Regions from separate parts of the Homo sapiens genome. Here regions 1, 2, 4, 5 and 6 are each linked to region 3. The links are contacts of gene promoters, found by promoter capture Hi-C in blood cells and fetal thymus (Javierre and others, 2016). All regions are on one chromosome and are shown on one strand. Each heading gives the region's core, a stretch centred on a gene start or on the middle of the fragment in contact. The rest is flanking DNA. Distances are from core to core; before and after follow the strand shown.

Region 1 (3,991 bases), core at 1,117-3,616, 1.5 Mb before region 3:
TTTTGATACAGGGATGCAATGTGAAATAGTCACATCATGGAGAATGGGGTATCCATCCCCTCAAGAATTTATCCTTTGAGTGATAAACAATTCAGTTATACCCTTTTAGATATTTTACAATGTGCAATTAAGTTATTATTAACTATAATCAACTTGTTGTGCTATCAAATAGTAGGTCTTATTCTTTCTTTCTATCTTTTTTGTACCCATTAACCATCTGCACTTCTTTCTTAATTTTGAACAATTCCTTGAAGCTGCAGAAATATTTTCTAGCATGATTAGGGAGGCACAGGAGGTAAAAATACATTGTTCAAGGGTCAATTATTGTGTTGTACAAGGTGTGAAATCTACCAGGTTGCCATCCGAGTGGAGAATTTTTTTACTGTACTTGCCTATGAAGGTAAAGAAGCAAATGGAAATTTTTTTTTAAGAATTGAAAGGATTTTATTTCAAATCAACTCTCATACCTCATCCTGGGCTCCAAATATGTTCAATCCACTTGTCTGAACTTCTGCATTGGAGTAAATTTTATATAATTGTCATTGAAGTCAAAACTGATGGCGTAATATTTAAAACAATGGCTGGATCCCCAATCTAAGAAGAATACATTTTGTTGATCATATTAAGTACTGTTACAGTGAATGCATGGACCCATACAATTGTGGAATAATTAAGAAAAAAGGACTTAAGGGCTTAAAAATGTCTTTTTAACAATTTAACAAGTTAGCCAGAAACTTTAAAGATCTTATTCTCTTAATCTTCTAGCTAGACTCTTTTTCTGTAATGAGTAAGATATGTGACTACTGATTGTTTTTTGTGTTAAGTGTTCGAACTGCTCCATGTGACATTAGATAGCAGACTCTTGAATAGAGCTAATGCTCTTTCAAAGATTTGCAACAGCAGACCTGCGACATTGTAATCCAGGACTGATAGAGTTGGTTCAGAATATTAAAAGGGTGATATCTAGTTAGATACATAAGTCTTGATGGAGAGGAGGAGATTCTGAAGCATTGAGAATAAATTTGTGGTTGCTGAGAATGGCCCTCACATGTTGGAGTAAAGCCAGAAACTCTTTGTGCCTCTTCACAGCTCCCACTTCCCCCTAAGACTCTTCCTTCCTGATACCTATAATTCATTTTGTGGACACTGCAGGAGGTGTCTGCGGTCCAGTTGGAGGTTGTGGCAAATTGTAACGCTCAGGATGGCACAGATGTCGCACAAGGTCTTAGGGAGACCAGCCTTTCCTATTCAAGTGCCCACAGCTCTTTCCCCAGCTGTCACCTTCCGCAGGAATGGCCTTTAACACTGTCACCTCACCCCATTCCCCTCCACTCTTGGGAAGCATACGTCTAGGTGAGTGGTGAAGATTTTTATTCTGAATTTTTGAAATAATATCGTACTGCAAGTTCCAGGCAATCAAAAACTCACAAATCACTTGCACTCTGCAGCAGTGGTATCAGGTCTGAAGAAAGGAAGAGGCTGCAGATAGGCACATGGCTTTGCTAAGTTAGCTTTTATATCCTGCGTGGCTGCCTTAGAAAGTGTCCTTGCCCAAGTAGGCTGTGGCTTCTAGATAAAGTCCTTCTACTAAGCTATGAAACATGCCAATTTATAAATTGCTATCACTACTTTAGTTCCGCTCATTTAAAATGAAATAGCTGAATGCCGAGTGAGTGAATTGGGCATCTTTACTTCCAAGACTTCTGGGGCATTCAGGAGTCATATTCTATCTAAGCTTTAATGGTGTTGGTGTTCCCTTTCCTTTGGCCACTCAAGGGAGCCTGTTTTCTTTGGATAAACCGTGAAATCTTTAACCCTGTGAATGTCCGTTTTCTCTAAGGCGGGGTGGGCTGAAACATAACATAACAGGATTTATTTTGAAAGTGGTGACTCCACAATAAAAACATAGATATCTAATTTGCCTTACAAAGGCCGATTTGCAAATCTAGTATTTCCAGTGGTTCTTTCTTTCTTTCTTTCTTTCTTTTTTTTTTTTAATGCCCCATATGACGCTGCTTTGTTGGAATTGCCATTGGTGAGGATCTCACTGATAAAGAAGGGGACATCCCTCCCTTGATAGACTTTAGGGTTGCACTAGAGCCATGCCCCCTTTGAAGTGGCCTCTAAGCAAACTCTGTCTTGTCATCATTTTCCTCTCTGCAGCTGTAAGTGATACGGAGCTGTATTTTGAGTTTTTGATACTGATATTACTAAGGCAATTGGAGGGATTCTTAATTCATCTAAAAAAAATCAGGGATTCTGACAGATAAAAGGATTTGGAGGAAATGTCAGAATAAAGCATTGTGGGTTCATGAAGTCCTAGGTTTTATAATTAAGGTTTATAGGCAGGTATTACCGCTGCTGACTGGATTCAACTGTCTGGATTGGAGATGAACAAACTGCCATCTCTGGGCTAACTCTGACCCACTGCCTGATTTTGTAAGTAGAATTTTTTTTGGAACACAGCCATGCCCATTTATTCCCATTCCTATAATGTTGAACTACTGTTTGTGTATATTCAGTTATCCCAAAATAATATGGCCCTTTGCTTGTTACCAGAAGAGTCGCCCAGTTGTGGCAGAGATCATCTAGCTCGCAAAACTGTAAATATTTACTCTTTGGCCTTTCCCAGAAAAAAGTGCCGACTGCTATGTTAGATACTCCAGTTCATTGAAAGTGATATCACCCTAACATTCTCTAAATTAGCCACAGCTTAGATGAAATTTAGGCAAATGGAATGCCCCAGGCCCCAGGAAGACTGTGGCAGCACATTGTATGTAACTGTTGGGGATGTTGCCTGAAACCCCCGCCTTTTTTTTAGGCAGCTGCAAGGATTAGAATGTTGCCTCCTCAGAAACTAACACTCTTCTCTCCTTGACCTTTGTTTAACCAGCTTTCTGAACCTGAAGAACTTTGTAGATTGAAAGCTGTAGCTTGTGGACCTCTCTCTGTGGAGATCAGCATCTCAGTATCCAGGGGGAAGCCATCTCTTCACCCAAAGCTTCCGCTAGGAGATCAAGAGGCCCGGAACCCCGCAGTCCTGAATGCTAACCAGTAGAGACAAGGGAGGAATTCATTTCTGTTTGTGTTCAACATAGACTGAGCAGGAAGGGCCAGGTGTTTTACGACTCTTTGGAGTTAGCAGCTTGTTGGCTCTGATTTGGTAAAAGCAACGGAAATGCCTTCAGCACGGTGAACATTACATGCAAATGTTGGGAAGTGTTAGGAAAGGGAATTTTTTTAGGCGAGGGAATTTCGCATTGAGGAAGGTCCCTGCTTCGTTTTTAGACACAGCCTATCAGTCAGCTAATTTGGCTATGCATATAAATACTTTAGTATAAAATGCTGCCCCCTGCTACCTGCAGGCTGACATGTTGCTCATCAAAGGCAGGATCCTTCTAATGAGGGATTAGTTGGATGCCTAAATGTGGGACCACCTACTCTGTTCATTGTCTTAATTAGCTAGATGTTTGTTGGAGCGCATGCAAATTATTTTCTGTAAGCAGACAGATTTATTATCATATTTACGGAGTGACATCCAGGGTTTGTGAGACATCCATTAAATTTTTTTTTTTTTTTAATGTTTGAGATGGGGTCTCACTGTGTTGCTCAGGTGTTGGTCTCAAACTCCTGGGTTCAAGTGATCCTCCCACCTTAGCCTCCCAAAGTACTGAGATTACTGGTGTGAGCCACTGTGCCCAGATGCTATTAGCAAGTATGAACAAATTAGATATTTTCAGTCTACTCTTCTGTGGTAATGATGATAAAACTTCTTAACTTTCAGTCCTAAACCAGCAGTGGCTAAAACTTGATTTTTAAAATTTTTTTCAGAGTTTGGTCCAGATGAAGTTTCTTTCACCTTGCGAACCTTTAGAACGCTGGGCTGCATCATGTGTGTTGTAACTTTAAAGTTAGAATAGCCTAGCTTCGTTACAGTTTTTGAGCCAAAGGACCCATTAACAGAAACAAAACTTTTTTTCCTGCAAACAAA
Region 2 (4,136 bases), core at 1-2,500, 1.5 Mb before region 3:
TTTTATTTTCCTTCCTTCCTTCCTTCCTTCCTTCCTTCCTTCCTTCCTTCCTTCCTTCCTTCCTTCCTCCCTCCCTCCCTCCCTCCCTCCCTTTCTTTCCAGATTCTGGACCTATTCCAGACTTACTAAAGGAAATTCTCTAAAGGTGAGGCAGTTTTTTAAAGACAGCAGCTCTCTCTGTCGTCCATGCTGGAGTGCAGTGGCCCGATCATAGCTCACTGCAGCCTCGACTTCTTGGGCTCAAGTGATCCTCCCCCTTCAGCCTCAATGAGTAGCTGGGACTACCGATGTGCACTACCACGCCCGGCAAACTAAAAAAATAATTATTTTTGGTAAAGACAGGGGTCTTGCGATGTTGCCCAGGCTGTTCTCAAACTCCTGGCCTCAAGTGATCCTCCTGCCTCAGCCTCCTAATGTGTTTGGATTACAGGCATGAGCCACTGAGCCCGGCCTAGCTACCCTGTCTGAGTTGTGCCCACTACACAAAGGTGTCAGCTACATGTGATGTCTGTGCATTTCTGGCCTGGACCGCACATTAAGTGCTCCGTAAACATCAGTCTCTATTATCAACAGTCTCTATTATCAATCAGTCTCTATTATCATCAGTCTCTATTATCATGAGTCTCTATTAAACAACAGTCTCTATTATCACAGTCTCTATTATGTGTTTTGGCTGAAAGAAAGTTCTCTAAAACCAGGAAATCAGGAATCAGCAGTTTTAAGTTCTCCAGGTTATATTTTAACATTGTGTTCATATGCAAAACAAAGGTTGTGAATCAGCACGAATGCTGGCAAGCCCTGGAAGGTTTGTGATCACGGACTTTCACGAGACCCCAAGGCAAGGAGAGACAGAAGCCCAGGACAACAGCATGGGCGCCGCTTTTTAGTCGGGCGCCGCTTTTTGGTCAGGCGCCACCTGGACTACATTTCCCATATCCAATTGCCGGGCTCCTGCAGGATTGGCCAGAACAACGCGGAAGTGATTACGGGTCGCCCAGCAACGGGCGGAGTCCTGGCCCGAAACTGGATGCGCACGCCCCTTCCCTGCGGCGGGGAGGCTGACAAGGCTCCGCTCTATCTCTAGCGCCTCGGAGCGCTCTCCGGCTTTGCTGTCTAGCCCGGCGGCAGCGCGATCTCTTAGGCACTTTCACCGCCTTCCTCTCCAGGCCCTGCCCCTTTGACGCCGGCCGTCGCGATATTGCGGAGACTGGATTTCAGCTTCGTGGTCGGCGGAGCGGCCCCTGGAGGGCGCAGTGCGCAGGCGTGAGCGGTCGGGCCCCGACGCGCGCGGGTCTCGTTTGGAGCGGGAGTGAGTTCCTGAGCGAGTGGACCCGGCAGCGGGCGATAGGGGGGCCAGGTGCCTCCACAGTCAGCCATGGCAGCGCTGCGCTACGCGGGGCTGGACGACACGGACAGTGAGGACGAGCTGCCTCCGGGCTGGGAGGAGAGAACCACCAAGGACGGCTGGGTTTACTACGCCAAGTAAGGGGGCCGCAGTGGGGCCGCGGACGCACCTGGGACCCTGCACAGCCCACGGACGCCACCTGCGCGGGGAGGACGCGCACTCCAGCGCAGCGCGTGCGGTGCAAAGTGAAAGTAACTGTTAAGGAGCTTCAGGGAAAAGGGTCCAGGGTTCCCAGTAGGGGCCGGCCCCCTTGGTGGGCCTCGGGTCCAGCGGGGGTCACCTGGTGGCTTCCCGGCGCGCCCTCTGCTGTTCAGGATGCAGCACTGCGCGGCGCGGCGAGGGCAAAGCGGCCTCATCCCCGCCAAAAAATAAAGATGTTTTAAAAAGCGCACATGCTCAGCTCCCTCCTGCAGGCTCTGGGTTGCAGGGATAGGAGTTTTGTTGTGTTTTGTTTTGTTTTGTCCAGACCGGTATTGCTCAGTCATCCAGGCTGGAGTGCAGGGGTGCCATCATAGCCCACTGTAGCCTCTACCTACTGGGTTCAGACAATCCTCTCATCTCAGCCTCTTGAGTGGCTGGGACTACAAGCGTGCACTACTATGCCCGACTAATTTTTTAAGTATTTGTAGAGACTAGGGTCGCACCATGTTGCCCAGGCTGGTCTCGAACTACTGGGCTCAAGCAGGCCACCTGCCTCAGCCTCCAGAATTGAGATTACAGGCGTGAGCCACTGCGCCTAGCCAGGAGTATTTTTTAGTAGCAGTCCTAGATAGCTTCACTATCATTTCCTGGGAAAGTTTTGGAAACCCCAGCAGAGCCTTCATCTTTAACTGTGTGACCTTGGGCCATTGAAATAACGTTTAATCTTGGTTTTTTCACCTGTAAAATGGGTTGATACGAGGGTCAGTTCAGGCACTGTGCGTAAAGCACATAGCACCGTGTCTAGTAGGTACTCTCTGTTCCTTAACTGTCGTTCCTTGATTGCTCTTAAGATACGACAGTGCCTCTTATATCGGCACCTTAGAATCACCTAGGAAATGTCCTAAATACACGTTTTGGGTCTCCATAGAGAACCTACTGTAGCCGACTCTCAACTTTGGGAGTCTCTTTTTTTAAGCTTTCCAGGTGAGGTGGAATATCACCTGGTTTTGAGAAACATGGATGTAAATCTGATTTTCAGCATCTGGGAAACTTTTTTTGTAAGAGCCTTTTTCTGGGCCCCACTTCCAGAGGGTTTTTCTTTTTTTTTTTTCTTTTGAGACGGAGTCTTGCTCTGTCGCCCAGGCTGGAGTGCAGCGGCGCGATCTCGGCTCACTGCAGCCTCCGCCTCCCGGGTTCACGCCATTCTCCTGCCTCAGCCTCCCGAGTAGCTGGGACTACAGGCGCCCGCCACCACGCCCGGCTAAGTTTTTGTGTTTTTAGTAGAGACGGGGTTTCACCGTGTTAGCCAGGATGGTCTCGATCTCCTGACCTCGTGATCCTCCCGCCTCGGCCTCTCAAAGTGCTGGGATTACAGGCGTGAGCTACCGCTCCCGGCCTTTTTTTTTTTTTTTTTAAAGACAGGGTCTCGCTCCGTCGCCCAAACTGGAGTGCCGTGGTGCGATCTCGGTTCACTGCAACCTCTGCATGCCGAGTTCAAGCGATTCTCGTGTCTCAGCCTCCCGAATAGCTGGGATTACAGGCGCCCGCCACCAGGCCTGGCTAATTTCGCGCTGTTGGCCCGGCTGGTCTCCAACTCCTGGCCTCAAGTGATCCGCCCACCTCGGCCCCCCAAAGTGTTGGCATTACAGACAGGAGCCACTGCGTCAGCCCAGAATTTCTGATTTAATTGGTTTGGCCCCTCCCCTCTCCCTTGGTAGGTTGTAAAATCTTCCCTCCCAGGTGATTCTAATCTATGCAAGGATGTGAACCACTGCTGCCTTTGGTGGCAAGGTAGAGGAAAAACAACCAAGTTCTGATGAGTTCATTCAAGACACACACAGGTATTATGTGACAGGCCTTTGGCTGGCACTGGTTATACCGAGGCAAATAAGAGCCAGTTGTCATCCTTAGGACCCAATCTTATTAGGGCACAGTGACATGTGTAGGAGCGTCCCCACGCAGTGTGTATACCAGGAAGTAGTGTGTCTGGCATGAGGTGTGTGTAGGTAGTTGGGGGGGTCGTGAGGGAATATGGTGGCACCCTCACAGTAACCTTCACTTCCTGGGCTCAAGCGATCCTCCCGCATCAGCCTGTTGAGTACCCGGGACCACAGGTGTGTGCCTCCACACCCAGCTAATTATTACATGTTTTGTAGAAATGGGGTCTCACCATGTTGCCCAGGCTGGTTTGAACTCCTGAACTCAAGCCAGCCTCCCTCCCGAAGCACTGGAATCACAGGCCTGAGGCACTGTGCCAAGCCCAGAGCGGTGTTTTGAGCTCAAGTAGAGGTGGGTGGGGCAGGAGGGCAGTCTAGGTAGAGGGAACAGTGAGAGGAGAGACCCCCTGCATGGCCTGTCCAGGGGCCTGTGATCTTTGTGAGGGTCCAGGAATGTGAAGGTTAAGGCAGGGAAGGGAGGACCCATTTCAAGGATTTCTGTGCCTTGCCGAGAAGCTTGGGCTCTGTTGGCAGAGCCAGAGAGTGGCATTCATTCAGCTTGTGAATTCTGGAAGAATTTCTGGCTCTGGAGAATTAAAGGGACATTTCCAGCAGCAGAGCTCCAGTAGCCTTTGCAGGGACGGAGGCAAGCT
Region 3 (3,795 bases), core at 1,241-3,740:
AGCTCTAAAAGTAAAATTAAAAAAAAAAATCCAAACAAAATAAAACACACACACACACAGAAAATGAACACCAGTTCATGAACTGAAGGGGAAGAAGAAGAAAAAATATGTGAATGATGCAGGCTTCAAAGGTGATCAACGTTTCACATGAAGAACTCTGCTGAGATCATTGAACATTGTGCAAGTCCGGGGGTGGGGCGGGGGGGTGTAAAAAAAAAAAAAAAACAAGCTAGCAAGTTATGGAGAATTTCAGATTGGCAATCCATGAGCCAGACACCCATTCCCTCCCCAGTTTAAAACAGCCACCACCACCACAAACTCGAGCAGGGTGTGGGGTGTGTGTGTGTGTGTGTGTGTGTGTGTGGTGTGTGCGTGCGGGTTTGTGTGTGTGTAGGGGGCCAAGGGGGCCAAACTCGGTGGGGGTGGGGGTGGTGAGGTGGTGGCGAGCATGGCTCTAGAACTAGCAAGCCCACACCCGAGCCGGACCCCCGCGGAGCACTTATCAGGGTGGCTAGCTGGAATCGCGTGTCAGACTCACATGAAAAACTCGGGAGAGGACGGGTTGTCGCTGCTCGAGCCGTTTTCTCGGAAGCCGCTGCTCACCAACTTCTCGTATTTCTCCTTGTACGCGTCCCTCTCGCGCACCAGCCTGGAGATCTCCTGCTTGAGGTGGTCGACTTGCTGCAGCAGCTGGTTCTTCTCCGACTCCAGGACGTGTCTCTGCTGCACCCTCTTGAAGCGGCAGGACTGGGCATAGCCGCGGTTTTTCAGGGTCCGCCTCTTCTGCTTCAGCCGGATCACCTCCTCCTTGCTGACCCCGCGCAGCTGCCGGTTCAGCTCGCGCACAGACATGGTCACCAGCTGCTCGTCGGAGAAGCGGTCGTCGAAGTGCAGGCCGCCGGCGGCGTGGTGCGGGTGCAGGGCGCCCCCCGCCCCCGCCGCGCCCCCGCCGCCTCCGCCGCCGCCGCCGCCGCCGCCGCCCCCAGCGCTGGCCGGGCCACCGCCGCCCGCGCCCCCAGCGCCACCGGCCGAGGCGGCCGCGCTGCCCGCGGCGCCGGGCGCGCCGGCCGTCGGGTGGTGGTGGTGGCCGGCGGCGTGGTGGTGGTGGTGGTGGTAGTGCGGGCCCGCGCCGCTCTGCGCGGCGGCCGCGGCGATCACGGCGGACACCACGGCGGCGGCGGGGCCCATCTCCTCGCCGCTGCCGCCCAAGGAGGCGCCGGCACCGGCCCCGGCCGCCGCGGCCAGCTGCTGCGCCCCGCGCGCGTAGCCATCGAAGCCGCCCTGGAGCTGGTGGCTGTTGCTGATGAGCGCCTCGACCGCGTCCTCGGGGCTGAAGCCCAGCGCCTCGGGGTTCAGCTGCTGCGGGTAGCCGGTCATCCAGTAGTAGTCTTCCAGGTGCGCCTTCTGCTCGCTGCCCGAGCCCGGGCTGGGCGCCGAGAAGCTGGGGGAAGGGGGCACCGAGCTGCACGGCGTGCTCATGGGGGTGGAGGACAGCGAGCCCCCGGCGATGAGACGGCCGCACTGGCTGATGATGCGGTCGGTCTCCACCGGTTCCTTTTTCACTTCAAACTTCATCAGATCGAAGTCATTAACATATTCCATGGCCAGGGGACTGGTGGGCAGGTCGGAGTTGCTCATTGCCAGTTCTGATGCCATTCTCCTGCCGCCGCCGCCGCCGCCGCCGCCGCTCCGCCAGATGGGCTGCAGGAGAGGGGCCAGCGGGCTGTGCTGGGTGGCCAGCGGGTGAGCCAGCTTGCCGGGCTGGGGCGCTTCTAGCTTGCGCGGCGGTGGCTGGCCCGAAACCTCCGAGCGCGCTCACACACACACCCCCCCGCCCTGCCCGCGCCCCCCGCGCCCGCCCTCCCTCCCCCCTGCTCACGCCAATGTGCTCCCTCGCTCGCCCCGGCCCCTCCTTGCTCGCTCGCCTCCTTGCGCGCCGAGCCGGCGGCTTCAGGCTCGGGAAGATCCTCCGCGAGCTGCGGTGGCGGCGGTGGTGGCTGCGGCGGCGAAGCTGGAGGAGCCCGGCCCGGTGCGCGGCGTCCCCCGCTCGCCGCTCCGCTGCGCGCTTTGCATAAGGAAGGGCTCGCCTCGCCGGCCCGGGCTGCAGGCAGGGCGCGCGCGGCGTCCGCTCGGGGCTGGAGGCGCGGCGGGCGTCTGTCCGGGCGGCGCGGGCCTTGGCACGGGGGAGTTAACACTTCATGCTTCTCGCCTCCTCTTCTGCTTGGCTCTCTTTATTATTTTTTTTCTTTCCTCTCTCTCCCTCGCGCGCTCTCTACCTCTGTGCAAAGTGCAAGGCAGAGGTGCAGCCCGACTGGAGGAGAGGGAGGGGGGAGTTTAGTTCTTTCTTGCCTTTTTTTAAAAAAGCAAAATAGCGAAGTCCTGGGGAAAGACGAGGCAGAGAGCAAAGGGGGGAGGGGGAGGCCAAGCCGACAAGCAGCCCGAGCTACAGCTAGAAGATGAAAAAAGATTTTAAAGCCTCTGATCCAGCAAGAAGAGTTTAAAGCAATTGCTGAGTTTTATAGCACTCGTGACGTCAGGTCCAAATGAGAAATTGACTGGCACTCCGGGCCAATGGGAGGCGGCGAGAGCGGCCGCGATTAGCATAATAGTATAGAAACAAGGAAACTTTTCGGAGCTGTCAATCAGGGCCCAATCAGCTGACTGTCAGCTGGGACGGGCTGGCTTAACCCTTCCTGCGCCGCTGCCTACCCGGGAGGGAACGAGGCCCGGCGCAAAGTTTGGTGTAAGAGGGGAAGGAGTTTTTCCAGAGGGGCTTCGGCAATCCGGGCGGACCTGGGAGGGCGGTTTGCTTTTCTTTGGAGCGCGAGACAGGCCTCCCATCCGGAGCCCCAGCTCGCTGGGGGCTCACTCGGCTGGGATTGGCCTGATTCCCCTCCCCTGCCTGCCCTCCACCCCCAGGATTGTGAATTCGCCTCCCAGCTTTTCCTCCTCGCACCAACTCTGGTACCCAGGTGTCTGCCGGGGACCTTCCTTCCCTGAGCCTGGCCGTGCCCGGCGCTCAAACTTGGCCCCAACTCTTTGTCCGTCTCTCGGGCGCCCGTGCGGGGAAGGGACCGGGAAGGGAGGGATGCAGTGGGGTGTCCGGATCGGGGCTGCGGGCTGGGCGCCGCCCGGCCATGCGCCTGCCCAGAAGGCTGGGCATCCGTGGAGAGGGAAAGCCCATTTTATCCCTCTCTTTACAACGAGGTAAAATAAGTTGTTTAGAGGCCATTCTTCACGGAGACCGGCTGCCCGCTGGCGTCGCGTGCCCTTGGACAGAGCGAGCGCCTATGCGAGATAACTCCGGGGAAGCTCAAAGTCAGGTCAGCCGGGCTCAGCCTTCCGGCTCCTGACTGGCCGGAGTTTGGCCTTTGAGACTCATATTGCGCGCTCGCTCTCTCTCTCTCTTACACACACACACACAAACACACACACACTCACACTCACCCGTCCCCTTACGAAATCTGACCTCTGTTTATCAGGGTCAGGCGCGCCCTTTGCACTTTTACGTTTCCTTTAATTATTTCGGACTTGATCGTGGCAGGGAGCAAGGGGGAAAAACAATACCCCAGCCCTCACCAGCTACCCTCGAAGGGTTAAATTTTAAACCGCGGTTTCTGGAACTAGTCCGGAAACGCAGAGTGGGGGGTGGGGTGGGGGAGGCTGCTCCCCCCACCCCCAGTTGCAAATGCTAATAAGTAGTTCAAATTTCTAGATTGATTCTCTAAAAGTTTATGCAAAAAAGAAATAAAAAAGAAAAAGAAAAAAGAAGGAAACCAACAACTAACTCTGTTT
Region 4 (4,102 bases), core at 1,404-3,903, 1.1 Mb before region 3:
AATGGATTCGAGTGATTACAGCACGTCCTCACTTACATCTCCCAATATATTTCTTGTTATTCTCGTTGAGTACTGCATTCAGACAGAGGTTGCCAATAAAGTTTATTGTAGGAGCTAAGTGTCAATATCTGTAGTACCCCCCGCCTAGGGTGCTGCTAATAAAATGCCACAGATAGTCTGGGAGAGGCATGAAAATTTGATGGCAAATTGATTTCAGGTTCATCTTGAAATTTGTCCTCAGCTGGACTCGATACTTCTGGCAGACATGGGATGGCTTTTGTCAGAAGGGTCTGCTGGAATGAGACAGAGATGTCTTGATCTGAATATTAAATACAACATGCTGTTTATGACATTATCCGTTTACTGCTAAAATACCCAGCTACTTCTGTTTACACATTCTTCTGCGTTGAATGGGTAAGATAGCATCTCATAGATCCACTTTACATATGAAAAGAAGTTGTATCAAACTTGCTGGGCATCAGAAATAAAGGGTTTTAGAGACACTGGCTTCAAACACAAGTTATTCCATCCAAGATTCTAAACTTAGCAATGCAACTTGCACTTAATTTTAAAACGCTGGAAAAATAATGATAAAGATTGTGTGATCAAGTATAGCAGCCCTGTGGTGTTTCCTCAGAATGGTGTATTACAGAAAAGGAAAAAGCCATATACATGGAGAAGAAACTCCCGATATTTAATATTATCAATTGCTGGTTCCTGTAAATTTGCATTTATGGATCACATTATAAAAGCAATTACTCTTATGGATTGTTCATGCAGAAATGCACTATGATGATAATATACTTTTAAAAGTATATTTATTTCCAGAATTCAATTTGTAAGAGGTTTGAGGGAAAAATAATACTGAGTTTTGAGTGTTTCTGATTTTAAAAATGTGTTGAGTAGAATTAAACGTGTTCACCAAAACCCATTTTATCACTTTAAATTATTGGGCAATTAATTGTATTTACTTAGCATTGAATGCATGATTAGAAATGGAATTTTTAAAAAAGCAATACTCAAGTGGAGTGAGTTCATTTGTTCATTCAGCAAATAGGACTTGAGTCCCCTACTATGTGCGGAGCCTTAAAGGATGAGAAAGATTTCTGGGTGGGACTTCAATGAGACTCATTTCGCAGGTTTTCATGTTATTATGTATATGTGGTAAATAATTAATTTTTTCACAAGTACTTGCACTAGTGATGCTAAAATAAGCTTGACTGGCTTGTAAATCAATGAAGGTTACTGTTGCATTGCTTTGAAATTGAATTTAAAAACAGAAACAGAGCAGTCCCTTTGCTTCCGAATGCAGCCCTCCCATTGGAATCACTTTGGAAGAATCTGGATCTGCGTGTTACCCAGTCTTACTTTTCAGGCAGTCCCAGGCAGGAAGGCCCATTAGTGAAAAGAGCCCTGCATATGCTGTGGGTCATCACAGCTGCTGCTTTGCACATTTAGGAGATATTTGTGGACCTTTCATTAGGACAATTTTTATGGCCCGAGATTAAAAGTTAAAGTTAAGTAGTAAACGTAATGAACATGTGCCTTTGGAGATTCCAACTGGTTTGTATTTTCATTCTCTCCGTTGGTCATGGCCCATTGAATTTTGATGATAGCATTAAAACAAATGCCTCAAATCATTTTTGGAAGGAGACAGGATATGAATTGACAAATTAATAAAATAAATTATACTTCAAAGATGCTAAATTATCTCTTCTATGTAAGTAGGAGGCTCTCTTTTCAGATGTGGAATTTGTAGGAGCTTGAATATTCTCAAGAGAGGGTATGGGCAACATTTGATAAAAGATGTAATTATTGGGTCGTAGGAAATAATGATTGAGATAGGGTATCCACTGCCCTGGTGGGGGAATCAGTGAGGCTAGGAATCACTGGAAAATGACATTCCTTGAGACTCCTTCAATGGGTAGAGTTTGCTTTAGCTTTTCATGTATCTTACTGTATGATGGTTGCTTTTGGGTTGAATTCCACCTTGGGTTCAATTCAACATGAAAGTTAACCTTTTGGTGAAGGAATGATCCAGGGGAAATAGTAAAATATTAGCCTGTCCTCCAATACAAATTGCCTGTGAGTCCCACTGATACTTACAAATATACAGAGGTGGTGTAAAAGGATTCTGTGTCAAAACTATTAATATTTGAGAAATACAATACTTATCAGAGCCTTTGTATGTAAATGTCTCATATACCCCTCTAAGAAGGGGAGCGAATAGTATTTTCCAAACTTACGTCACCACTTACCATCCACCTGCATACTTTACACGTCTTGGAATCAACCTTACAGGGAACACTTGGTCGAAAAACAGTGTTTTCTAAATTTATATTACAGTTCCCACTCCCCCCCCCCCCACTTGTATCACTTTGTATGACAGTCTTCTTGGGAACATCCATTGGGAAACTCTTCCCTTGCAGGTGTCTGTTACAAGTCCTGGTTCACACAGTGTTGCGAAAGAATAGTTGTATGTCACAATTTTCTTTATATAGTATTTATTGAGAAACCTATTCTGTTAATAGAATGACTCAAAATCAGCCAACCCCATAAATACTGCTCAAGCATTTAGAAAGACTTTCTCTATAGAGGCTTCAGACGTCAGAAAAAAACTTAGAGAGTGACTTTCAGATACAGCAACCTAGTCTATGTTATAGAACATTCTAAAAAGAGCAGATTTTAATATCTTTCCTCCCACACTTGCTTTGACTCCCTCCTTTAGTAATTAGATAATTATGTATAATAAGCACATTAATTATGTGCAACAGCTGCCATTGAGTGTGTGCATGTACAACTGCTTGAAAACAGCTTGTGAGTTCACTATTAGGTCCATGAAATTTTTCTCCTTGGCAGGTTTTCACTATTAGTTTGCTTGACAAAGGATAGATACATTTTCCATGTGTGGAGGTAAAAGCAGTGCAGTGAGCTAAAAAGTTAGCAAAGGTGAAGTGGTCCTAATCTGCGGCCCTGGTACACTTAGATAGGCATCATTGCCTTTCCTCTGAGCTCTTGGTGCTGATAACAGCTTCCTTGACCGATAAGTGTACCAGATTTCCTTACCTGTCCCAGGGCAAGATAGCAAGAGTTTCTTGATGCATTTAAAAAATGCATTTAGTGTTGGCAAAAGGCTGGCAATTTATTATTAAGTGGAATAAGCAGTTTAAAAACAGTATGTACAGGGTGGTTTTCTGGCTATATAAACACACAGGCATTGAAAATAGATATACATAAATAATGTTACTATAATTTGTCTGCCTCCCTTCTCTCAGAAAAGACCAATGAATTATCTATTATGTGCCACTCACTATTTGAGTGCTGGGAATACAGCCCCATAAAGTGAAGTTTCATATATCAGGTAGCAAGATGGCCATGGTCTGTGTTTTGAGAATCACAGGCGTTTTTGAGGCTCATGGCTATAATCCCAGCACTTGGGGAGGCCGAGGCAGGTGGATCACCTGAAGTCAGGACATCAAGACCAGTCTGGCCAGTGTGGCAAAACCCCACCTCTACTAAAAATACAAAAAAAAATTAGCTGAACCTGGTGGTTCACGCCTGTAATTGCAGCTACTCAGGAGGCTGAGGCAGGAGAATCACTTGAACCCGGGAGGCGGAGGTTACAGTGAACCGAGATCGTGTCACTGCACTCCAGCCTAGGCGACAGAGCGAGACCCTGTCTCAGAAACAGAAAATAAAACAAACAAAAAAATACTATTCCATAGCTGACTATTTTCTGAAATGATTTTGTTACTTTTCTAATGAGAAAAAAATAGATCTCGTGTGTGGAGGGAATTGAAGATGTAATTTCAGACTCTGCGTACAGCTAAGCTCATCGTAGTTACTTAACTAACACTTAAGGAATTAAATGGCATATCTGTGTTTGAGAGGCACACTGAGATGAGACACCAGCTCTTTTTATTTATTTCTAATGGTTTGCTTGGTGTACTGGTCATTTCCCCGGAAGTGTGCAAGAAGAGGTAGGTGACTTGCATGTTGTCTATGAACGTTTTTAGAAACGTCTGGTGGAACCATCCGGGCATCACATAGCTATCTCTGTGCAGAGCCAGGCCGGATGCCTAGGTGAGATGGAAAGCTTCCG
Region 5 (4,346 bases), core at 1,288-3,787, 1.1 Mb before region 3:
GAAATTCTGTTTTTGGCAGGCAACATTCCAAAGATCTTTTTCATTTAAAGTCCAGGAGTCTTCTGTGTGAACCCCACACAGGTACCTTGGAAAGACTGCATCTCCTGGATTTTGCATGGTTCTGGCTTAATGGACAACATATCAGTCATTTTTTGAGGAAAATAAATTTAAGGCTTGGTCATCGGTCCTTGAGTCAGCACATTGAGCGTTTTGTCAATTAGCTCCTCCCCCCATCTTTATGGTATGGCTTTTCCTGTAATTACAGTCAAGATCCTATAGCCGGAGGAAGGCCTGTCAATTGAGTAAGAGGCTGATGTTCATCGCACAGTGACAGCCCATTCGGAGGGTTTTAGGCCTGTCCTTAGAGAGGCTTGTTATTTCCTCTTTCGGTACTTTGTTGCAACCCAGCTCACCGCCATCAGATGAGTGGAGGTTTCTTATGCTGTGGCGAAACCCAGGGGGTCAAGCCCCTCGGACATGACGTACTGCAAAGTGAGGATGTTTCATTGATTTATATTTTTAAAATTAAAAATAATTATTTAAGCTGCATCTGTGTGCTTATAAGAAAAGATATAGAAAGATTAGTAGTAGACTGTTGTGTTCTTTTTTTTTTTTTTGAGATAGACTCTTGCCTGTCGCCCAGGTTGCAGTGCGGTGGCATGATCTCGGCTCACTGCAACTTTTGCCTCCTAGATTCAAGCGATTCTCCTGCCTCAGCCTTCTGAGTAGCTGGGATTACAGGCGCCCGCCACCACACCCAGCTAATTTTTGTATTTTTAGTATAGACGGGGTTTCACCATGTTAGCCAGGCTGGTCTCGAACTCTTGACCTCAGGTGATCTGCCCGCCTTGGCCTCCCAAAGTGCTGGGATTACAGGCGTGAGCCACTGCACCTGGCCAGTAGTAGACTTTTGATAGGGTTTTTTTTCTCAAGGTGTAGATTTGGCTAGGAAGTCATAGAAAATGGTCTTTTTTTTTTTTTTTGGAGATGGAGTCTCACTTTGTCACCTAGGCTGGAGTGCAGTGGTGTGATCTCAGCTCACTGCAACCTCCACCTCCTGGGTTCAAGTGACTCTCTTGCCTCAACCTCCCGAGTAGCTGGGACTACAGGCCAACGCCACGGCACCTGGCTAATTTTTGTATTTTTAGTAGAGCCGGGGTTTCACCATGTTGGCCAGGGTGGTCTCGAACTCCTGACCTCAAATGATTCCCTGCCTCCACCTCCCAAAGTGCTGGGATTATAGGTGTGGGCCACTGTGCCCGGCCAGGAAGATGGTCATGTTTTACTTTGAACCAATCTGTGCTTGGTTTATTTTTTTCAGTGAGTGTGGATTACGTTTATAATTTTCGGTTACTAGTTAGGTAAAGAATAAAAATTAATAAACACATTTATAGTTCTCAGAGATTCCTTGAGAGAGGAACATCTTTAAACGGATAACCACAGTCTTCTAAACACCTGAAAGGGTGTCTTTTGCTGAACTATGGAGTTTTAGTTTTGCTTTAGAATTTTTGGATGATTAGACTTGTACTTCTTTTAGGCTATTTTTCCACCTGGTACTATTTGGCTTTACTGACTGCCCTCATTCCCCATACACCACCTTGTTTTGTTCAGATTCCCCTAAATCTTCATTCTCGTCCCACCTCCCCATCACTCCTGACTACTTGAAACACGACTTCTGTCCTCAGAAGGCAGCAGTGTTCCCTCCTCCCGTTCATTTTTCATTTTCCCGTTGCTTAAAAAAATCAAGCATATGTTTGCAGTCATCACTGATGTTCTGCCTCCTCTTCTAAAGTTATAGATGAGTGCCAAGTTGGCAGAGCATGTAGAAAGATCACTGCAGATGTCCTTGTCGTGTTGACCTTATTGGAGAATTTCCTATCTGTGATGACCTGTAAATGGAATTTAAGGGAGGAATCAAACGTGTTAGCACGGGGTTGGCATTGCGTGGCTGTTTTCAATTAACTTGACCACTATGATAACATCAAAGGTGTGTGTACCATTCTATGACCATTGAATCTCCATGGACATGTTTTGGGAAATGGATTTGTCCCATTACACTGCTTTCTTTAGTGCATAAGATCTTGAAGGGAGGGATGCATTCTATGCACCCCAAGTTTCTGGTTTACTCGTGGTTTCAGGTGTCCCTTTAGACAACATCACTGACAACTCACTATGTAAAACCAAACAAATTATTAGCTTTCTTACTGTGTGTTTGCATTTGCTGTGCCCAGGGAAATGGGAAGTGCATTGAGGAAGAGGCCCCAAGACATGGAGAAGTCACTCCAACTTTCCGGAAACCCCTTTTGCTGTGCCATGTGCATGGAAGGAGAGGAATGAATGACTGTTGAAGCCAGATGGCCTTGCTCATTGATTCTCTCCTTTCCCGCCCTCTCAAGCCATCCAGAAGGAGAATGAAATGCTCAAATCAAGGGAGTTAACTATGGCAAAGATGTTAGTAATGGGAAACTTTGGAGGAAGGCAAAGTCAGAAATTATTCTGCAGGGAGATTTGGGGATGTTGGATGCTAAGGCCCAAGCCGTCTATTGTATGCCTTTTGCTTTGGCATAAAACAACAGATGACCTTCTGTTAGGTGTATGTCTGCTCATGCTTGAGAGTGGTGGTGTTTGGAAAGACTCAATAGCATATGCACATGAGGAAGTTGACCAAATGATTCCACAGCACATACTCATTTTTTTGCTCTGATTCTAGCTTTTCCTCCAATTTTATTCAGAATTTGTTCTTTTCTTACCTCACACCATATAGAAAAATCAACTCAAAGTGGATTGGAGACTTAAACATAAGATCTGACAGTGTAAAATTAGTAGAAGAAAACAAGGAGGAAAGCTCCATGACACTGGTCTGCACAATGAGTGTTTTTGTATATGAACCGAAAAACAGGTAGCAAAAGCAAAAATAGACAACTGGGATTACAACAATCTAAAAAATTTCTTTACAGAAAGGAAGCAATGAACAGAGTGAAGCAGCATCCTACAGAAAGAGAATATTTGCAAACCACACATGTGATAAGGGGTTAATATTCAAAATGTACACACAGCGTAAATGCAAGAAAAGAATCTGATGTAAAAATGGCCCTTCCAACATCTAGCATTATTGTGTGTTGAATAAATACTTGTTTGATTAGGTCTAATCACTCTTCATGATTGGATTTCCAAAATGTGGACTCTCAGCAGGACATTACAGGGACAGTGGTTGGGTCTGGAGATGTCACCCTTAGCTGTTTTTCACAATGAGAGGTTGTTTTATCATAAATAAATCAATAAATGGTAGATTATACACCGGAGTTACTGAGAATTATAAAAAAATTAAAAAAGCCCACATTTTAAAGGGAATTTGGTATTTTTAACAAAGCATCAGGGGGCTGGGAGCAGTAGCTCACGCCTGTAATGACAGCACTTTGGGAGGCCGAGGTGGGCGGATCACAAGATCGGGAGATCGAGACCATCCTGGCTAACATGGTGAAATGCTGTCTCTACTAAAAATACAAAAAGAAATTAGCTGTGCGTGGTGGCGGGCGCCTGTAGTCCCAGCTACTTGGGAGGCTGAGGCAGGAGAATGGCATGAACATGGGAGGTGGAGCTTGCAGTGAGCCGAGATTGTGCCACTGCACTCCAGCCTGGGCAACAGAGCAAGACTCCATCTCAAAAAAAAAAAAAAGAAAAAAAAGCATCAGGGTTGTCACCATGAAGCAGGAGGAGAAAAATAATGCTGTTAGACTTCTTAAAGCGTATTTTGTGGTTTATTTTATTGCTCTGTAAATTGCAGGCTGTAATTCATGGGGCTCAGGCCAGTGATTTCACAGTTGATAGACCAGGCACATCTCTTCCCACCCCTTCCCCACCTAGGGGCAAGGTTTTCAGGAAGAGCCCCTTTTCTAAACCACACATGGCCTGCTCACAAATCTTATGATAAAACTCTACCCACTGAGAAGCACAAGGTGTGAGGCTATTGATGAGGAGTTGAAGGTGACAGAGACCGAGAAAGTGCTGCACACCTTTGGCCTAAAGGGTAATGAGCAACACACAAGGATTGGGAGATGTTCATGGCAAGAAAAATTCAGAAGGGACATTGTTGTTTCACTAATTCTGTAAAGGAGAGCAGCGGCATTTACTTAGGCCGATTCCCCATTCTCTCTTTCTGTTTTTAAACAGAGACAGATCTTGCTCTGTTGCCCAGGCTGGAGTGCAGTGGCATGATGGCATGATCATAGTTCACTATAATCTCGAACTCCTGGTTTCAAGTAGTCTTCCTGCCTTGGCCTCCCAAAATGCTAGGAATACAGGCAGGAGCCACTGTTACTGGTCTGTTTTTTTTCCTTAAATACATA
Region 6 (3,915 bases), core at 43-2,542, 1.5 Mb before region 3:
ATAATAGCAGGGAAAATGACATGTCGATCTGTGATTCCTTTTTTACTTGTCAGTCCTTTTGGGAGTTGAACATATAAGCACATGTACCTCTATGTGACTTTTGAGACGTCTAGAATAGAGAATTCACCTTTGTAGCTGGAATTTATTCAGCATGCAAATGTGGGTGGGTGATTGTTTTATAGATGCCTGGTGTTGAATGATGGGCAGTTGTGATAACTATATATAAAATTATATTAAAGTCCAAGAGGTGCTTTTATGAGGCAGGCTGGAAATGGCATCCGATTTTCTTATGGCTTTTTCATGTCCATTTTGATGAATCTATTTATTACTTCTATAATGAGTAGTACACATGGTTGGTTAGCCAAGTTATTGAACTTTATCAACCTTGGCTGAAATTCACAATGCGTGCCAAACTTGTTGTAACATGTAAGAAATTACATCTGGGCTAAAAGGTTCAATAATGATTACTCTTATAATGGAATCTTCTACAAAGCAAGGGATTTCATGATATCCCTATGCTTTTAAAAAATTATTGTGATACAGTGAAACAAGGAAGAACGTGTAGCTGGAAAAATAGTATTTGCTTGTAATATACATTCAGATTCATAACAGGCTTATTTGATTCCCAGGACAGGGTGAGCAAAGGATGCTGTTTCCTGGGTGTCTGCTTTGGTGTTCATTGAGTCATGTCTCTCTCTTTAGACCTTACTGGATCTAGTCTTCATCATGGGGCCTGTGAGCTCTTTCAAATCTAGAGGACAAAACCTAATAAAGTGCTGTCATATCACATCTGTTTATGAGTTTCAAACTGAAATGAAATGTGTAGCCGTGTTATTCTTAAATTACAGAGACTTGAGGAACGTAGAGCTTTTTACTCTCACTAGAGAAATCTAAGCACAGGTTGGTTCGTTAACCTGTAAAGAGATGTTTGGGTTTTAAGAGGTCTATCAAATAACACAGTTTCCCTTTCCCAAGTTACTACCTAACTGAGCAGTAAGACCACCCATTAGGCAAATGGAAGACCAAAACATCACCTGAGTCATTCATGAAGCTGATACTGGAGAATATGTATAGCTGTGTGAGCTGGTGGGCTTTCTAATCCTGACCACCACAATTAGACAGGGTAATGGGTCAGTGCTAGGTCAGGCCAGACCTTCGCAGAGGGCAGACCCCATTCATGCAGCATGTTCAAGACAGTGCAGGAGAGCAGGGTGTGTGCTCTCTGTAAGAGGAGAGGAGAGGCAGAGCTGCGTGTGCCCGGTTCTCAATCCTGGAATTACCATTCACATACCATTCACAACATAAGTTGGATCAGCTCCCTTGAGCAGGAATAAGTGAGTGGCAGAGGGGGTCAGGGATGTTAACGCAAATGGAGATCCCTTCACCCAGAAAGACACATCTGAAATGGAGAAGATGCCTTTTTCCTCCTGCAACCAATAAGAGAGTGATGAAAATTATGACGCCTTGGGAAATAAGACTGCAACGTAAATGTGTGTCCACCCCCTAGTTTTCTTTTGGATTGTGAATCCTCACCCTCCGATAACTAGACGTGCTGTTTTGACGTCTATGCTTTCCAGCTTGCCAATTCTGGGGCCTGGCACAGTATCTTTCACCCCGGAGTCTCAGTTTCCTCATCTGTAAAATGGGAACCATGACGTCAGCATCACAGAGTTGTGAGAATTCGACAAGGTGGAATGAAAGCAACTAGTGTGGTGTCTGACCGCTTGTGTTAGTCCATGAGGAATTTCCTTACGTATTGTTTTGTGTCTAGGACCAAGTTCTTATTTTCTTCTTATGGATGACTTCATATATATGCCGCCACAGAGGGAATTACCGTTTTTCTTTGTAGGTAAAAAGGAGCTGGGTTAAGATGCACCGTCATATGAAACAGGGAAAAAGGGTTTGCTTGGGTTTTAGATTCCTGAAACAGTCTGCTGAGGGATTCTAAAGTTGTTGTGGTCTCTGTTCCACTTTGGGAGTTTGATAAAAATTGGCCTGTTTTATTTGACAGCTCTTAGGTAGTGTGCAAAATTGTCAACAGATAATAAAAGTTTTTTGCAAAGCTATGGCTCTATGTGCTGTACTTGAGCAGTATCCATACTCTTAATAGAATTGATATATGAAAGCAGGTCTTTTTCCTTATCCGTTTAGACCTAAATCTTATCCATAGTGTGTGGATATCACAAACAGCACAAGAGGAAGTGAAAGGAACAGAGTGGGTGAGCAAACCATTGTTCAAAGGAAACAGAACCTCGCTCAAGGAAAATGAGAATTCTTCTGATCAGCTTCTATAATGGATGCAATGAGGAAAGTTGTCTAGCAGACTGTTCTTGGCCAACTGTCTAAATGGCTCGCTGCATCCTCTTCACGAGAGCTGATGGTAGGACTGTAGAAGAGTCACAAAACATCACATGACAACGCCAGTCCCTCTGATAATCCTGCAAGAGCCAGCCCAGTTTTGCTGACAGCACAGTCTGCTGTTTAATTATTGTGTGTTCAATGACTTACCTCTTTTTAGTTTAATTAAAATTATTTCTCAGATTAAGAGCCATGCTATGATGCTTGCCAACGGATATTTAAAACATGTAACTGATTTGTTTTTTATAATGCTTCAGGAGAACTCAGTTGAGCAGTAAAGATGTGCTCGTGATGTGGTTAGCTCAGAATAAGGATGTGAAAACCAAAAGGGAAAGGAGGACAGGAGTGAATCTGGCACTTATCTTTCAGTGGGGCCTGAGTGCAAATTCTTCCTACCTTCCATATGAGAGAATAGGGAAAATTAAAGAATAAATGTCTCTGGGTTTAATGCAACTTTACTAAGGAATGAAAGTCCGATAAGAATCCATATCTTTTGAAAGAAGATTTTTTAAATTCCTTATTTTTCCTTTCTGCATGGTCATAAAACACACTGGGGACAGCCCACCCTGAGAAGTCACCAGGCATCTGCCTGCCTTCAGTAGCAATCACCCAACTGCTGTAGACCGTAATCAAGCTTTCAAGAACCACGTGCAGCACGCTGCGGGAGAGTCCCAGCGAAGTGCTTAATGCGCCACTCCACGGATGTGAGTGGGGAGCAAGTGCTCAAAATGGGGCTTCTGAATTGCAATCATCATTTGGCATCTCTATTACCTACAGCTGCTCAAAGATGTTCCCCCCATGCAACTGTTTCTTGCAACTCCTAACATTTGCAACGAGGCCTCTGATGCAGACAACCCGTTTATACCTCTGGGTGGTTGAAACCTTCATGGTTTGTTGTAAAGAAAGGTACACAGTCCCACCAATCAGACCGTATCTAGAATATTACGTTCATTTAGGGGTGGCGCATAGACAGGCTAAAGGATGGCAAAGTCATTGGGTCATGTCCTAGGAGCAACCCTTAAAGGAAGAGTGAATGGCTGGTTAGTTGGTAGAAGAAAAGATTTATGTAAATTAGTTCTCTCAGTAGCTATCTAGGAGAGAGATAATCCTAGCTTTCTTCAAGGGACAGAACCAGGACCAATGGACAAAATCTGCAAGGAGGCAGCATTTAACTGATTAGAATTGTCGGGGGTGGGGTTGGCGAGAGGGTGTTGCTTTTCTAATGATTCACATTGTATAAAAAGCAGACAGTAGGTCTGGCACTGTTGGCTCATGCCTGTAATCCCAGTACTTTGGGAGGCCAAGGCAGGTGAATCATGAGGTCAAGGGTTCAAGACCAGCCTGGCCAACATGGTGAAACCCCTTCTCTACTAAAAATACAAAAAATTAGTTGGGCGTACTGGCAGGCGCCTATAATCCCAGCTACTCGGGAGGCTGAGGCAGGAGAATTGCTTGAACCCAGGAGGCGGAGGTTGCAGCGAGCTGAGATTGCGCCACTGCACTCCAGCCCAGGCGATAGAGTGAGACTCTGTCTCTAAATACATAAATAAATAAAAG

The links. Contacts are between HindIII fragments. The CHiCAGO score rates a contact against its expected background, and 5 or more counts as called.
Region 1: a fragment that was not itself captured here is called in contact with the fragment with the promoter of MAF in region 3 in 5 of 17 cell types (naive CD4 T cells, naive CD8 T cells, naive B cells and 2 more); the score reaches 10.2 in naive CD4 T cells.
Region 2: a contact is called between the fragment with the promoter of WWOX here and the fragment with the promoter of MAF in region 3, in 2 of 17 cell types (naive CD4 T cells and fetal thymus). The highest score is 6.9, in naive CD4 T cells.
Region 4: a contact is called between a fragment that was not itself captured here and the fragment with the promoter of MAF in region 3, in 2 of 17 cell types (neutrophils and monocytes). The highest score is 5.6, in neutrophils.
Region 5: a fragment that was not itself captured here is called in contact with the fragment with the promoter of MAF in region 3 in 1 of 17 cell types (monocytes); the score reaches 5.2 in monocytes.
Region 6: a contact is called between a fragment that was not itself captured here and the fragment with the promoter of MAF in region 3, in 1 of 17 cell types (endothelial precursors). The highest score is 7.2, in endothelial precursors.

What each region holds. Positions count from the first base shown.
Region 1 is chr16:78,116,062-78,120,052 of GRCh38, forward strand. All of the region lies in intron 4 of WWOX (WW domain containing oxidoreductase), which reads left to right. Among named protein-coding and RNA genes, the nearest start is that of WWOX, 18 kb to the left of the region's middle. The HindIII fragment of the contact is 1,266 bases long and covers 1,734-2,999 here.
Region 2 is chr16:78,098,404-78,102,539 of GRCh38, forward strand. It overlaps WWOX (WW domain containing oxidoreductase), which reads left to right and starts at 1,251. Exons shown (of 9, transcript NM_016373.4): 1 at 1,251-1,482. The coding sequence starts at 1,376. RefSeq lists an enhancer at 1,485-1,984. The HindIII fragment of the contact is 3,217 bases long and covers 1-2,520 here.
Region 3 is chr16:79,598,247-79,602,041 of GRCh38, forward strand. MAF (MAF bZIP transcription factor) reads right to left here and starts at 2,491. Exons shown (of 2, transcript NM_005360.5): 1 at 539-2,491. The coding sequence starts at 1,656. LOC101928230 (a long non-coding RNA gene) reads left to right here and starts at 2,641. Exons shown (of 3, transcript NR_188556.1): 1 at 2,641-2,743. RefSeq lists an enhancer at 2,406-2,700. The HindIII fragment of the contact is 16,856 bases long and covers 1-3,795 here.
Region 4 is chr16:78,511,541-78,515,642 of GRCh38, forward strand. All of the region lies in intron 8 of WWOX (WW domain containing oxidoreductase), which reads left to right. Among named protein-coding and RNA genes, the nearest start is that of WWOX-AS2, 14 kb to the left of the region's middle. The HindIII fragment of the contact is 2,881 bases long and covers 1,214-4,094 here.
Region 5 is chr16:78,494,543-78,498,888 of GRCh38, forward strand. The region is part of intron 8 of WWOX (WW domain containing oxidoreductase); the gene reads left to right. It overlaps WWOX-AS2 (WWOX antisense RNA 2), which reads right to left. Exons shown (of 2, transcript XR_007065129.1): 2 at 1-1,889. Among named protein-coding and RNA genes, the nearest start is that of WWOX-AS2, 3.3 kb to the right of the region's middle. The HindIII fragment of the contact is 7,347 bases long and covers 1-4,346 here.
Region 6 is chr16:78,135,752-78,139,666 of GRCh38, forward strand. The region is part of intron 4 of WWOX (WW domain containing oxidoreductase); the gene reads left to right. Among named protein-coding and RNA genes, the nearest start is that of WWOX, 38 kb to the left of the region's middle. RefSeq lists an enhancer at 2,760-2,929. The HindIII fragment of the contact is 3,396 bases long and covers 1-2,990 here.